Linked DNA regions of Homo sapiens: region 2 is linked to region 1. Evidence: promoter capture Hi-C in 16 types of primary human blood cells and fetal thymus (Javierre and others, 2016). All regions are on one chromosome and are shown on one strand. The core of a region is centred on a gene start or on the middle of the fragment in contact, and the rest is flanking DNA. Distances in the headings are between cores, read along the strand shown.

What was found. Contacts are between HindIII fragments. The CHiCAGO score rates a contact against its expected background, and 5 or more counts as called.
Region 2: a contact is called between a fragment that was not itself captured here and the fragment with the promoter of IDI2-AS1 in region 1, in 1 of 17 cell types (monocytes). The highest score is 5.7, in monocytes.

Annotation. Positions count from the first base shown.
Region 1 is chr10:1,019,935-1,025,527 of GRCh38, reverse strand. It overlaps IDI2-AS1 (IDI2 antisense RNA 1), which reads right to left and starts at 2,891. Exons shown (of 5, transcript NR_027709.1): 1 at 2,745-2,891. It overlaps IDI2 (isopentenyl-diphosphate delta isomerase 2), which reads left to right. Exons shown (of 5, transcript NM_033261.3): 2 at 784-946; 3 at 2,753-2,845; 4 at 4,631-4,761. The coding sequence starts at 805. The HindIII fragment of the contact is 10,709 bases long and covers 1-5,593 here.
Region 2 is chr10:897,878-904,481 of GRCh38, reverse strand. All of the region lies in intron 1 of LARP4B (La ribonucleoprotein 4B), which reads left to right. Among named protein-coding and RNA genes, the nearest start is that of LARP4B, 31 kb to the left of the region's middle. The HindIII fragment of the contact is 998 bases long and covers 1,985-2,982 here.

The DNA.
Region 1 (5,593 bases), core at 1,642-4,141:
CTCTGTCTGCCCAGGCTGGAGAGCAATGGCACGATCTCGGCTCACTGCAACCTCTGCTTCCCAGGTTCAAGTGATTCTCCTGCCTCAGCCTCCTGAGTAGCTGGGAATACAGGCATGTGCCACCAGGCCTGGCTAATTTTTGTATTTTTTAGTAGAGAGAGGGTTCCACCATGTTGGCCAGGCTGGTCTCAAACTCTTGACCTCAAGTGATCCTCCCACCTCGGCCTCCCAAAGTACTGGGATTACAGACGTGAGCCACCGCTCCTGGCCCTGAAAACATTTTGTGAGAAGATCTTCACCTAAGAATCTGCTTGGCTCTGAAGAGGACCATAGCCCTTCTGTGGGTGACGTAGCTTTCCTACAAGGCTGTGTGTTTCTCCACGTCTGATCCAGGTCCAGTGGTTTTGCACAGGGCTGCACTTTTCCCCAAAAACTTGTACAAAGAGTGTTACCTACAGTTTACCTCGGTGTGTTTTGTGTGTGTGTGTGTGTGTGTGTGTGTGTGTGTGTGTGTGTGGTGGGGCGGGGATTCTTTAACTCGTCACTAAAGGAAACCTGGAAAACATGAGGAGTATGTATGTACCCAAGATTTCCCGTTCAGAGAGACACCACATTAGAAACAGATGATTCACCTTCCATATCTCAGAACTGTGCTGCTTCAACACAATTGCTGTCACTTGTAGAGAAGGTGTATGCTAAATCCTAATGTGGTTGGTAACACATAGCAAAAACGAGATGGCAATATCTTTCACATAAAGAGGCATTTGTGTGCATCTATTTCAGGTCGGGTCACAGCCAGCAGCTATGTCTGACATAAATCTTGACTGGGTTGACAGGCGTCAGTTGCAGCGCTTGGAGGAAATGCTGATTGTTGTGGATGAGAATGATAAGGTTATTGGTGCCGACACCAAGAGGAATTGCCATCTGAACGAAAACATTGAGAAAGGTAGCCCCCGCCCATTTTCTCTGTCCAGTTCCCAGGGTTTTCCCATTTTTCCCACCCGACGGCAACCTAAGAAGAGAGTCTAGGCCTTTCCGGCTAGGAGGCGACCACTGGGTCACCTGTGTGCTTGCTGTGCCGTCTTTAGAAGGCTCGGGGAGCAGCACCTGGATGACGTCTTTGCTTGGTCAAGCCCTTGTCAGGCTCCTGCACCTTCTCCTAGGCATCCGTGCTCTTCCTCGTAAGATCCTGTTTCAGCAAGAATTCTACCAGGTTGTTTTAGCGAGAACCCTGACCTTGGCATCTGATTAAATTCCTCAACCCCGTCCCTCCCAGGTGACGTCTGATCACGCAGGCCTGTCTTCAGCAGGTCTTGTTAGGTCGGTGTAGCCAGAACCCCCTTCCCACTGATGTTTTCTCTTAGTAACTTTTAATCCATAGGCCCCAGCCTGCTCCTTGGGTGTTGTGTGCAGTTAGGCTGGTTCTCCATGGAGGTCTCTTTCCCCTATTGAAATGGTTCTCAGTAAAGTCAGACTTTCCTGCTTTAACTCCTGTCCAGCTCTGGTTTTCTTTGACCATCTTAAGCCATTTTATTATTTTTTAATTTTCATTTTTGTGTCTTTTTTATAAACACATAATAATTATGCATATTAATGGGGTACATGTGATAGTTTGATACCACCATGTCATGCATAATGATCAAATAGGGCATTTTGGGATATCCATCACCTCAAACATTCATCATATCTTTGTGTTGGGAACATTCCAAATCCTCTGTTCTAGCCACATTGAAACATATAATACACTGTTGTTAACTACAGTCACCCTACTGTGCTATTGAACAGCTGATATTATTCCTTCTCTATCGCGGTATGTTTATACTTATTAACCACCCTCTCGTCATCCCTCCCCACTGCCCTTCGCAGCCTCTGGTGTCTAGCATTGTGTTTTCTGCCTCCATGAGATCAACTTCTTTAGAGCCCACATAGCAGTGAGAACATGTGATACTTGTTTTTCTGTGCCAGGTTTGTTCCACTTAACACAATGGCCTCCAGTTCCATCCATGTTGCTACAAATGACAGGATTTCATTCTTCTTTTTTTTTTTTTTTTTGAGACAGAGTCTTGCTCCATTGCCCAGGCTGGAGTGCAGTGGTGCAATCTCAGGTCACTGCCAGCTCTGCCTCCTGGGTTCATGCCATTCTCCTGCCTCAGCCTCCCGAGTAGCTTGGACTACAGGCACCTGCCACCACGCCCAGCTAATTTTTTTGTATTTTTAGTAGAGACGGGGTTTCACCATGTTAGCCAGGGTGGTCTCGATCTTCTGACCTCGTGATCCGCCCACTTCAGCCTCCCAAAGTGCTGAGATTACAGGCGTGAGCCACCGCACCCGGCCCGATTTCATTCTTCTTTTGTGGTGGAATGGTATGCCACTGTGTATCTAACCCTCATGTTTTCAACCCTTCAAACCTCCACGGACACAGGTTGATCTCATATCTTGGCTGTCGTAAATGGTGCTCAGCACCCAGGAATGCTGCGATATCTCTCTGATAGACTGATCTCTTTTATTTTGGATATTTGCCCTGGTAGTGGGATTTCTGGGTCATCTGGTAGATCTATTTTTAGTTTCCCGAGTGTTCTAATCCGCTGAGATTCTGAAACGTTGTGTTTGGGCATCCAGCAGTCCCCTTTGCCCTGCCCAGGTGCCACAATCACAGGCTTTTCTACGAGAAACAGACTGAGGACAAAAAGCACGAAGGACAATCGTACAGACTCCAGGCATGCACTCACACAAATGGCACTTACCTTTGCAGGGCTGCTGCACCGAGCCTTCAGCGTTGTCTTGTTTAACACCAAGAATCGAATCCTGATACAGCAGAGGTCGGACACGAAAGTCACGTTTCCTGGTGAGTCCGTTCAACCAAGCCCCGGACTGAAGAGAGCATCTCATGTGACTTGACCGGAGGAATCTGGGACAGGAACTCTCTGGTGCTCAGTGCCGCACTGTGGTGAGCTGGCAGCTCATCCTGCAGAAAATCGGCAGCTTAGGCAGATGCTAATTATGCTGATAGCTCTTCAGTAGGCTGGGTTTTCTTTTTTAAAAAAGTAAGAAACTATATGAGTTTCTGGGTTTTTTTGTTTTGTTGTTTCTTTGCAACGGCAAGTTACTTAAATGCAGAGGAATTTATCAACCTAAGGATTTAGGGGATTAAAATAGCATTTAGCATAAAATTAACTAGGTAATAATAATAAAAATTATCTTACAGGTCTTAGAGTTTTAATTATCTTGTACTTCTTAAAATTACAACTTAAAATTTTTTTTTTTTTTTGGAGATGGAGTCTGGCTCAGTCACCCAGGCTGGAGTGCAGTGGCGCCATCTCGGCTCACTGCAAGCCCCGCCTCCTGGGTTCACGCCATTGTCCTGCCTCAGCCTCCCAAGTAGCTGGGACTACAGGCGCCCGCCACCACACCCGGGTAACGTTTTGTATTTTTAGTAGAGACGGGGTTTCACCGTGTTAGCCAGGATGGTCTCGATCTCCTGACCTCGTGATATGCCTGTCTTGGCCTTCCAAAGTGCTGGGATTATAGGCGTGAGCCACCGGGCCCGGCCAAAAAATTTTTTAGAGGGGAACAGCATTTACGTCAATTGTGGTCATTTAAAGTGTTTTGGCCTAGGCTGTCCTCAAATTTTCAAAACCAGACCTTGCCTGAGCCATTAAAGCGAATGGCTAAGCACGGCCAGCTGTGGCCGAGGTTTTCTCCTCCCTTAGTTCTTCCTCGGAGCCGCAGTGGGTACATCCTGCCCATTCCCAAACCCACCACCATACTTGCTGGTCAAGTTGTACTCACGGGCTCCTTGATGGAGCTGAATGCAAAGTTTGTTTCAGAAAAATTCAGGAGCTGCAAAGTTAAGAGGGTCAACTGTAGTACATAGTCAACAGTTTGCAAATAAAGCCCCTGGAGCTAAGATTTCCTATCATGTGTTAGCCGCCTCCAGGATACATAGGGGCAGGTGGGAGTACCAGCTCTTGTACTTGCAAGAGTGGATTCAACTTCAGCCAAACTCCTTGCAGAGTGACCGAAGGAAGCACTGAGGGTCTGAGGAACGAGAGGGAACAGAGATTTACTGAGGAGAGTGTGACCTCCCGTCATAGCGCTATTGCTGTTACTTGGGTAAATTAAGTAGAACCTCTCAGTAAGGAAACTTGGTCAAAGGTATTCCAGCAGTCTTCCTGTGAAACCATGCTCACTGATCACCACCCTCAAAGTGCAGCCCAGCTTCCTCAGCCCAGCTGGTGCAGCCACCCAGCCCACAGCCCCACCACCTCCTCCCGCCACCCCATGGCATCTCAGGTCCTCTGTGGGTACAAAACTGAGTAGGAACCAGTCCCTCTCCTAAGACATACTGGGATAGTGCCACGGGACATGTGTGTGCACATCTGCAGGAAGGGCCGCAGGAGCGGTCAGGGCCAGCCCCGCCAGGTGGTCATGTGGAAGACCCTCACCAAGCCCACAGCCGTGGAGGCTGGAGGCGAGTGCTGCTCTGAGAGCCCATGACAAACCCACTCCCCCCGCCAGGCTGTCTTCTGCTGATGACGGATGATGGTTTTACATGAAGCATCTGCATTTGTATTTAATATATTCACTTTTCAGGAATAAAGAGGGATGTTCCCACATGCATTTTTTCCAGGGTATTTTACCGACTCCTGTAGTAGCCACCCATTATACAACCCAGCAGAACTGGAAGAAAAGGATGCCATCGGAGTGAGGAGGGCAGCCCAGAGGCGTCTGCAAGCAGAGCTGGGAATTCCTGGGGAGCAGGTACACACAGCATCCAGTCTCAGCTGTGTCCACGGGAGTCCAGGTTGGCAGCGGGCAGACGGTGAACAAAGTCCAGGCTGGATCTACACCATTGACCTCATGAAGCACCATGAGGATGAAGGATGGGGCTGTGGATGGGGCTGTGAATGAGCTGTGAATGGGGCTGTGAATGGGGCTGTGAATGTAGCTGTGGATGGGGCAGTGTGAGTCCCTATGTGTCCCAGGCAGGGTTGAGACTGTGCAGGAATCTGTCGACCACACACCGAAGAGGAAATTCAAGCCGGGCGTGGTGGCTCACGCCTGTAATCCCATCACTTTGGGAGGCCGAGGCGGGCGGATCACAAGGTCAAGAAATCAAGACCATCCTGGCCAACATGGTGAAACCCCGTCTCTATTAAAAGTACAAAAATTAGCTGGGCGTAGTGGCACACGCCTGTAATCCCAGCTACTTGGGAGTCAGAGGTTGCAGTGAGCCGGGATTGTGCCACTGCACTCCAGCCTGGCGACAGAGCGAGACTCCATCTCAAAAAAAAAAAAAAGAAAGAAATTCAAGTGTAGAAAGAATGTCCAGGATCCTGTGAGCATGTGTTACCTTCATCCACTCAAGAACACGTTTAAGAGAGGATGGATGTTCTCCTGACAACGCTAGCCGGTTTCTACGGGGTTTTCTGTTGAGGATGTGTGTGTGACACGGTTAGTTCTTTAAATGAAGACAGACAGGTTTACTGGAACCAAGAAACCAAAGCCGGTTTATCATTCAGACTTGAGTCCACAAAAATTTACTTAGCTAAAATCGAGGTTTTGGAAATTATCAATTACCAAAGAAAGTGTT
Region 2 (6,604 bases), core at 1,234-3,733, 120 kb after region 1:
CCCAGGCTCAAGTGAGCCTCTTAATTTAGCCTCCCAAGTTCCTGGGACTACAGGCACATGTCACCACACTTGACTAATTTTTGTATTTTTTATAGAGACAGGGTTTCACTGTGTTGCCCAGGCTGGTCTCAAACTCCTGAGCTCAAGTGATCTCCCTTTCTTGGCCTCCCAAAGTGCTGGGATTACAGGTGTGAGCCACTGCACCCGGCCTATTTTATTTATCTTTTAGGGGACAGAGTGTCGCTATGCTGCCCATATTGGTTTTGAACTCCTGAGCTCAAGTAATCCTTTAGCCTCAGCTTCCTAAGTAGCTAGGACTGCAGGTATGCATCATTGTGCTTGGATTGTGTTTAATTTTCGTAGGTGAGAAGAAACATCAGAATTTTTCACTTGTGATGTCATGTTGGTGCTCAAAAAGTTTTAGATTTTGGAGGATTTCAGATTTCAGATTTTCAGATTAGTGCTGCTCAGCTTGTATTCTGTCAGTGTTGCGTGTCAAGGTTTTTTTTTAACAAAATCAATTTATGTATCATTTCATGGTTCTCTGACTCATTGTTAGGGACAAATATGCCTTCCCATTTGAGCCGCACAGGATTAAAGCAGCTCCGAGCTGCTTCCCAGCTCTGACATTTTGCCATTCTAAAAAATGAGTTTACTCACCACTTCCCCATCTTACTCTTTGAGTATTATGTATTTTCAATTGAAAACTGTAGTTTTGTGATGATGAATTGGAAAGCTCAATAGAACATGATCTGTATTCCTTGAAGAAATGCAGGATCCACTGGAAATGAGGTGGAGAGAGACCTTTTCCACCCATCAGAGTGAAGCGGTGTACTCTACAAGGTGCATTCCTGACGAGGAAGGCCCTGTGTGCTGTGCTGCCAATTCTGGCTTTTCCTCAGTTCAGGTGTATGCCCATGCTACTACGTTTGTCCATCAGCATTTTTGTTTTGTTTTGTTTTCAGATGTAAATGAGAGGAAGCAAAGATTTTTATGGAGACTATCAATAATCTCAAGAAAATACATATTCAAAATGGAATTAAAGCCGTGCAGTAAGATAAGTTTATATATGCAATTCCTTAAGGTAAAAGTAAATTATAAAAGATTGAATCAGGCAGTTCTGCTCTTTGTCCAAAAGGTAAGATTGCATGTGAAACATCAACAGGAAGTTGCCTTTTCCTCCTCTGGACTCTGGGTATACTTTGTTTGCCATCTGCGAGATCAGTCCATGGCTGAGAGATGGCATAAGTGAGCCTGAGTGCAGCAGTGAGCAGGTGGGTCTGAAGGATGTGGAAGAGTGGAAGTAGGGGACGCTTGCAAGTCAGGAGAGGCTTCCTGGGCATCCAGCACACATCCTGCCAGGTTAGGTTGAATCTTGTTTGTCCAGGTTGACATTCTCAACATGAGAAGTAATTTCTAATGGAATAAAATGCTGATGGACAGAAAAATGGAGGTTAGAATATATTCTAAACAGACTAGACAAAAGAGACAACTAGCTTTTCAACCAGGTAATTTAACATCTGTATTAAAAAGATTTTATGCCAGGCACCGTGGCTCACACCGGTAATCCCAGCACTTTTCGAGGCCGAGGTGGGCGGGATCACTTGAGGTCAGGTTGAGACCAGCCTGGCCAATATGGTGAAACCCTGTCTCTACTAAAAATACAAAAACTAGCTGAGTGTGGTGGTGCACACCTGCAATCCTAGGTACTTGGGAGACTGAGGCAGGAGAATCACTTGAACCTGGGATGTGGAGGTTGCAGTGAGCTGAGATGGCACCATTGCGCTCCAGCCTGGGCAACAGAGTGAGACTCTATCTCAAAATTAAAAAAAAAAAAAAAAAAGATTTTATGTTTCTGCTTCAACTTGAGGTTAAATGAAGTGAACGTGCTGCAGCTGTGCCCTGCTTAGACTGCAGATTTTGGTTTTGATGCTTCTTGGTAGTCCAGTATTTGACAAAGGAAGCTGTGTGAATTAGCTAAGCTTGTGTCCTAAAAAGATACTCCTAATGTAGTTGTCAACTTTTCCATTTGCTTTTCCCTTTGTGAAAGTGTGTGAAAAGGTGTGGAAACCCTTCCTAAGAAGCTCTTTACTGGGAAAGGTGTAGCACGGGATAAAAGCAAGAAGTGGTACTCCGAGGGCCATGATTCGCACTGCTGCAGCTTAGGGCTTGTGCAAAACAATGTTCTGTGCATTTGGTTCAGATACTTTATTTCAGCTTCTTTACAACCAAGTATTAGAGTGGTGGTTTTTGAGTTCGTCAAAGGTTTAATGAGTAAAATGCTCTCCTAGCCAGAGGGTTAATGAGATGATCTAAACTCCAGTTTCGGTGGTTGTTTTGTATTATGTTTTAGTAAGAATCCTAGCTAAAATGGTCTTTTCAAAAGATTGTACTCTCCAGAAGATAATGTCGTAGACCCAGTCACAGGCTTTAACGGTGGAGGGGACCGTTGTCCTTTTTTTGTGTGTCGACTTAGTAGACACGTTCTAAATTTAAAATCAGGAAGATTTTGAAAGTATATTATTTGGTGGTCTTCTCATGTAGGTACTTTTTCAATCAGATCTTGCTAACAAATAAGTTTTTGTATCTTGTGTCTGATTATGTCCTCCTTAGGAGGAGAACCAACTCAAACTATAAATAAAACTCACATTTTCTCACTGCTGTTTTTTTCAGTAGAAGCACCGATGTACACATATAAAGGACATTTTACAAAATTAGTCTTGAAATTTATTGGCAACATCTCCTTAGGAATACTCCAGTGCTGAGTGCCAGTTTAAATGTATAAACAACTACTCTACTGAGATTGGACGCATTTCTTTTATCCGTCAGTATCTTTGAGTGACACACTTACTATAAGAACATGAAACGAAAAGAATGGAATATCATAGAGATACTGAATCTTGAAAAAAACAAAAGACTAAAATAACAGTTTTGTTGGAAGCAGCAGTCTGTTGCTCTGTAAATGTTCCCACTATTCAAGCTTACAGATTCACTTGAGTATATGATGTGTATAAGGTACATGGAAGGAACATAAAATAATCTGCCCTAAGGTGCTCTCACATTATTCTATTGTAAGATAAAAATGTGCATTTCAAATATTACAGAGTGGTGCTGGCAGCCGTGAGATAAACCATATCATCCAACTAACAGCACAAGGCAGATGGATGAGGAACTAGAATTCCTATTGTATTTTATTTTCTGCACTTCTCTATTTAGATATGCACGTGGGAATCATAATGAAAATTTCTGTTAAGAAATATATCCTTCTGCTGGGTGCGGTGGCTCACTCCTGTAATCCCAGCACTTTGGGAGGCCGAGGCGGGTGGATCAGGAGGTCAGGAGTTCGAAACCAGGCCAACATGGTGAAACCTCGTCTCTACTAACAATACAAAAAATTAGCCGGGCGTGGTGGCAGGTGCCTGTAATCCCAGCTACTCATGAGGCTGAAGCAGGAGAATCGCTTGAACCCAGGAGGCAGAGGTTGCAGTTAGCCGAGATTGTGCCATTGCACTCCAGCCTGGGCAAAAAGAGCAAGACTCCGTCTCAAAAAAAAAAAAAAAAAGAGGCCAGGCGCTGGTGGCTCACACCTGTAATCCCAGCACTTTGGGAGGCTGAGGCAGGCAGATCATGAGGTCAGGAGTTCGAGACCAGCCTGGCCAGTGTGGTGAAACATCGTCTCTCTAAACATACAAAAATTAGCCAAGCGTGGTGGCGTGCACCTGTAGTCCCAGCTACTCGAGAGGCTGAGGCAGGAGAATCGCTTGAACTCGGGAGGCAGGGGTTACAGTGAGCTGAGATTGTGCCACTGCACTCCAGCCTGGGCAACAGAGTGAGACTGCTTCTCACAAAAAAAAAAAAAAAAAGGAAATATATCCTTTTTTAGCTGGGCTTTGTGGCATGCTCCTGTAGTTCCAGCTACCTGGGGAGCTGAAGCAGGAGGATCACTTGGACCCAGAAGGTCGAGGCTGCAATGAATTGAGATCGGGCCACTGCACTCCAGCATGGGTGAAAAAGTGAGACCCTACCTCAAAAAAAAAAAAAAAAAAAAAAAAAAAAAAAAAGACATCCTTCTTTCCGATCCTAGAATGCTATGACTGTGCTTTTTATTATTATCATTTTTTTATTTTTATTTTTTGAGATGGAGTTTTGTTCTTGTTGCCAGGCTGGAGTGCAATGGTGCGATCTTGGCTCACTGCAACCTTCTTCTCCCAGGTTCAAGCAATTCTCCTGCCTCAGCCTCCCCAGTAGCTGAGATTACAGGCGCATGCCACCATTCCTGGCTAAGTTTTGTATTTTTTAGGAGAGACGGGGTTTCATCATGTTGGCCAGGCTTGTCTCAAACTCCTGACCTCAGATGATCCACCCGCCTCGGCCTCCCAAAGTGGTGGGATTATAGGCGTGAGCCACTGTGCCTGGCCATGATTGTGCTTCTGATGATTTGATTTAGCTTCTGTGATCATTTTTTTTTTTTTCTGATCAATTTATGTAGCTTCAAAGGGATCAAAGTCTGGGTGGTAAACTGTTTTCTACAAATTTTGTTTGGACATTGAAAGTAACACATTTTGATTTTTTCTAATTGATTCCCAAGGAGATTATATAGTACTTAATTAAGGCAATCTCTAAAGTTCTTAGCCCTTTTTCCTTATTTAGGTAAATTTCTGTTTACTTATCTAGTTGAATATTCATTTACTGATTTTTGTAAAATGGTCTGTAAAATAAAATTATGTTGGAGTTCTTGGAACACATGTCTGTCTAGGAGCATCTTGTGCTGTCCATCTCTGTTCATGCGTCATCCCTTAACTCATTGTTCCTAATCATAGACAATTAGAGTTAGAAGGTAACTTAGCAAACTTTACAAATAAAGAAATGGAGTACTTAGACAACACTGTAGTAAAACTGCATATATTTGAATGTTACTAACAAAAGGAAGAAGATCAAGGTAAGTTGTAATATATCATTGGTGGGATATGTATTTCTGTCCTGTTCTCAGTATCACTGTGTGTAGATAGAAGATAAAACACAGGGATACCTGTGTTCCAGGAAAAGGCAATAGAATGTGCAGAACATGGCAAATAGAACAGGGAGTAATCTGTTGTGAGTAGGGAGTTCCTGACTTCAGAATAATGTTTTTAGATTCAGGAGAGAGGTTTTATATTTGGCTCCCATACAGCACACTCTCATGGGAAATGTCTGTTCTAAGGTCAACCCATAATGCAAAAATCATCAATATACTTGAAGATCCCCGTGTAAGGTACAATGTATTTAATATTATCACTGATACAATTGATCCAATACCAGTTTTAGTCTGGCATTGAATCAAATCACTGTTTTTGTTGTATAAAAAGAGAAATATTTAGCTTATATTTAAGTACCATATTGTAAGAAAAAAGATGCTTATCTTTACATGCTAAAATCATGATCTGTACATTGGTGCAGTGAATATTACTGTAAAAGGGAAGAAGGAATGAAGACGAGCTAAGGAAACTGTAGGTGCACTTCTCTGAGGTCATGTTACGATGTGACATTCACCCACATGCAGGGATTGATAGAGTGAATTGCCTGTTAAATGATCTCCAGGCACATATAGTTGAATAGCAAAATTATATGTGCATTAATATAGCCTCACTGAACTTAGTAGCTTTGTGACCTTAAATTATCCCTGATCTTAATTTCCTGCTGTGCTAAATAGGCATGGAACCTAATTAACAGAATTAAGTTTATTTGGTAACGTGGAGAAAGCACTTAGAATAATCCTTACCAAACTCATTCTTTTTCTTTCCAGGTTTCTGATTCAGAGACAAATAATTTGTGTTTTCACATTACCCTTTCGTACCAGAAAAGAATTACCTGCTGTTTAGGAAATGCCTCTTTATTTTGATTTTCTTAGAAATTATCAAGTTCTGAAATTATGATTTTTGCTATTATTTGAAAATCCAATGAGTTATGCCAGACACACATAAAAAAGGGAGGGTCTTAACCTAGTAGTTTATTATTTGGGTTGTTTCTACTTCTTGGCTATTACGAATAATGTTGCTTTGAAAATTCACATACAGGTTTTCAGGCAGATACATGTTTTCAGTTATCTGGGATATATCCCTAGGAGTAGAATGACTAGATCATATGGTAACTCGGTGTTTAACATATTGAGAAACTGCCAGACTGCTTCCTATAATGGCTGCTCTGTTTTACATTTGTACCAGCAGTGTGTGAAGATTGTAGTTTCTGTATGTACTAGCCACACTTGATATTACCTATCTTTCTGATAATAGTCATCCAAGTGGATGCAAAGTAGTATTTTTGTTTTAATTTTCTGTATTTACTTCATTTTATTTAATTTCATTTCAAAGTGGTATTTTGTGTTTTGATTTGTATTTCCCTCATGACGAATGATGTGGACGATCTTTTCATGTGCTTGGTGGCCATTTGTATATCTTCTTTGGGAAAATGTTCGTTCGGATCATTTGCCATTTTTTTTTTTTTTTTTTTTTTTTTTTGAGATGGAGCCTCGCTTTGTCGCCCAGGCTGGAGTGCAGTGGCGTGATCTTGGCTCACTGCAACCTCCGCCTCCCAGGTTCAAGTGATTCTCTTGCCTCAGCCTCCCAAG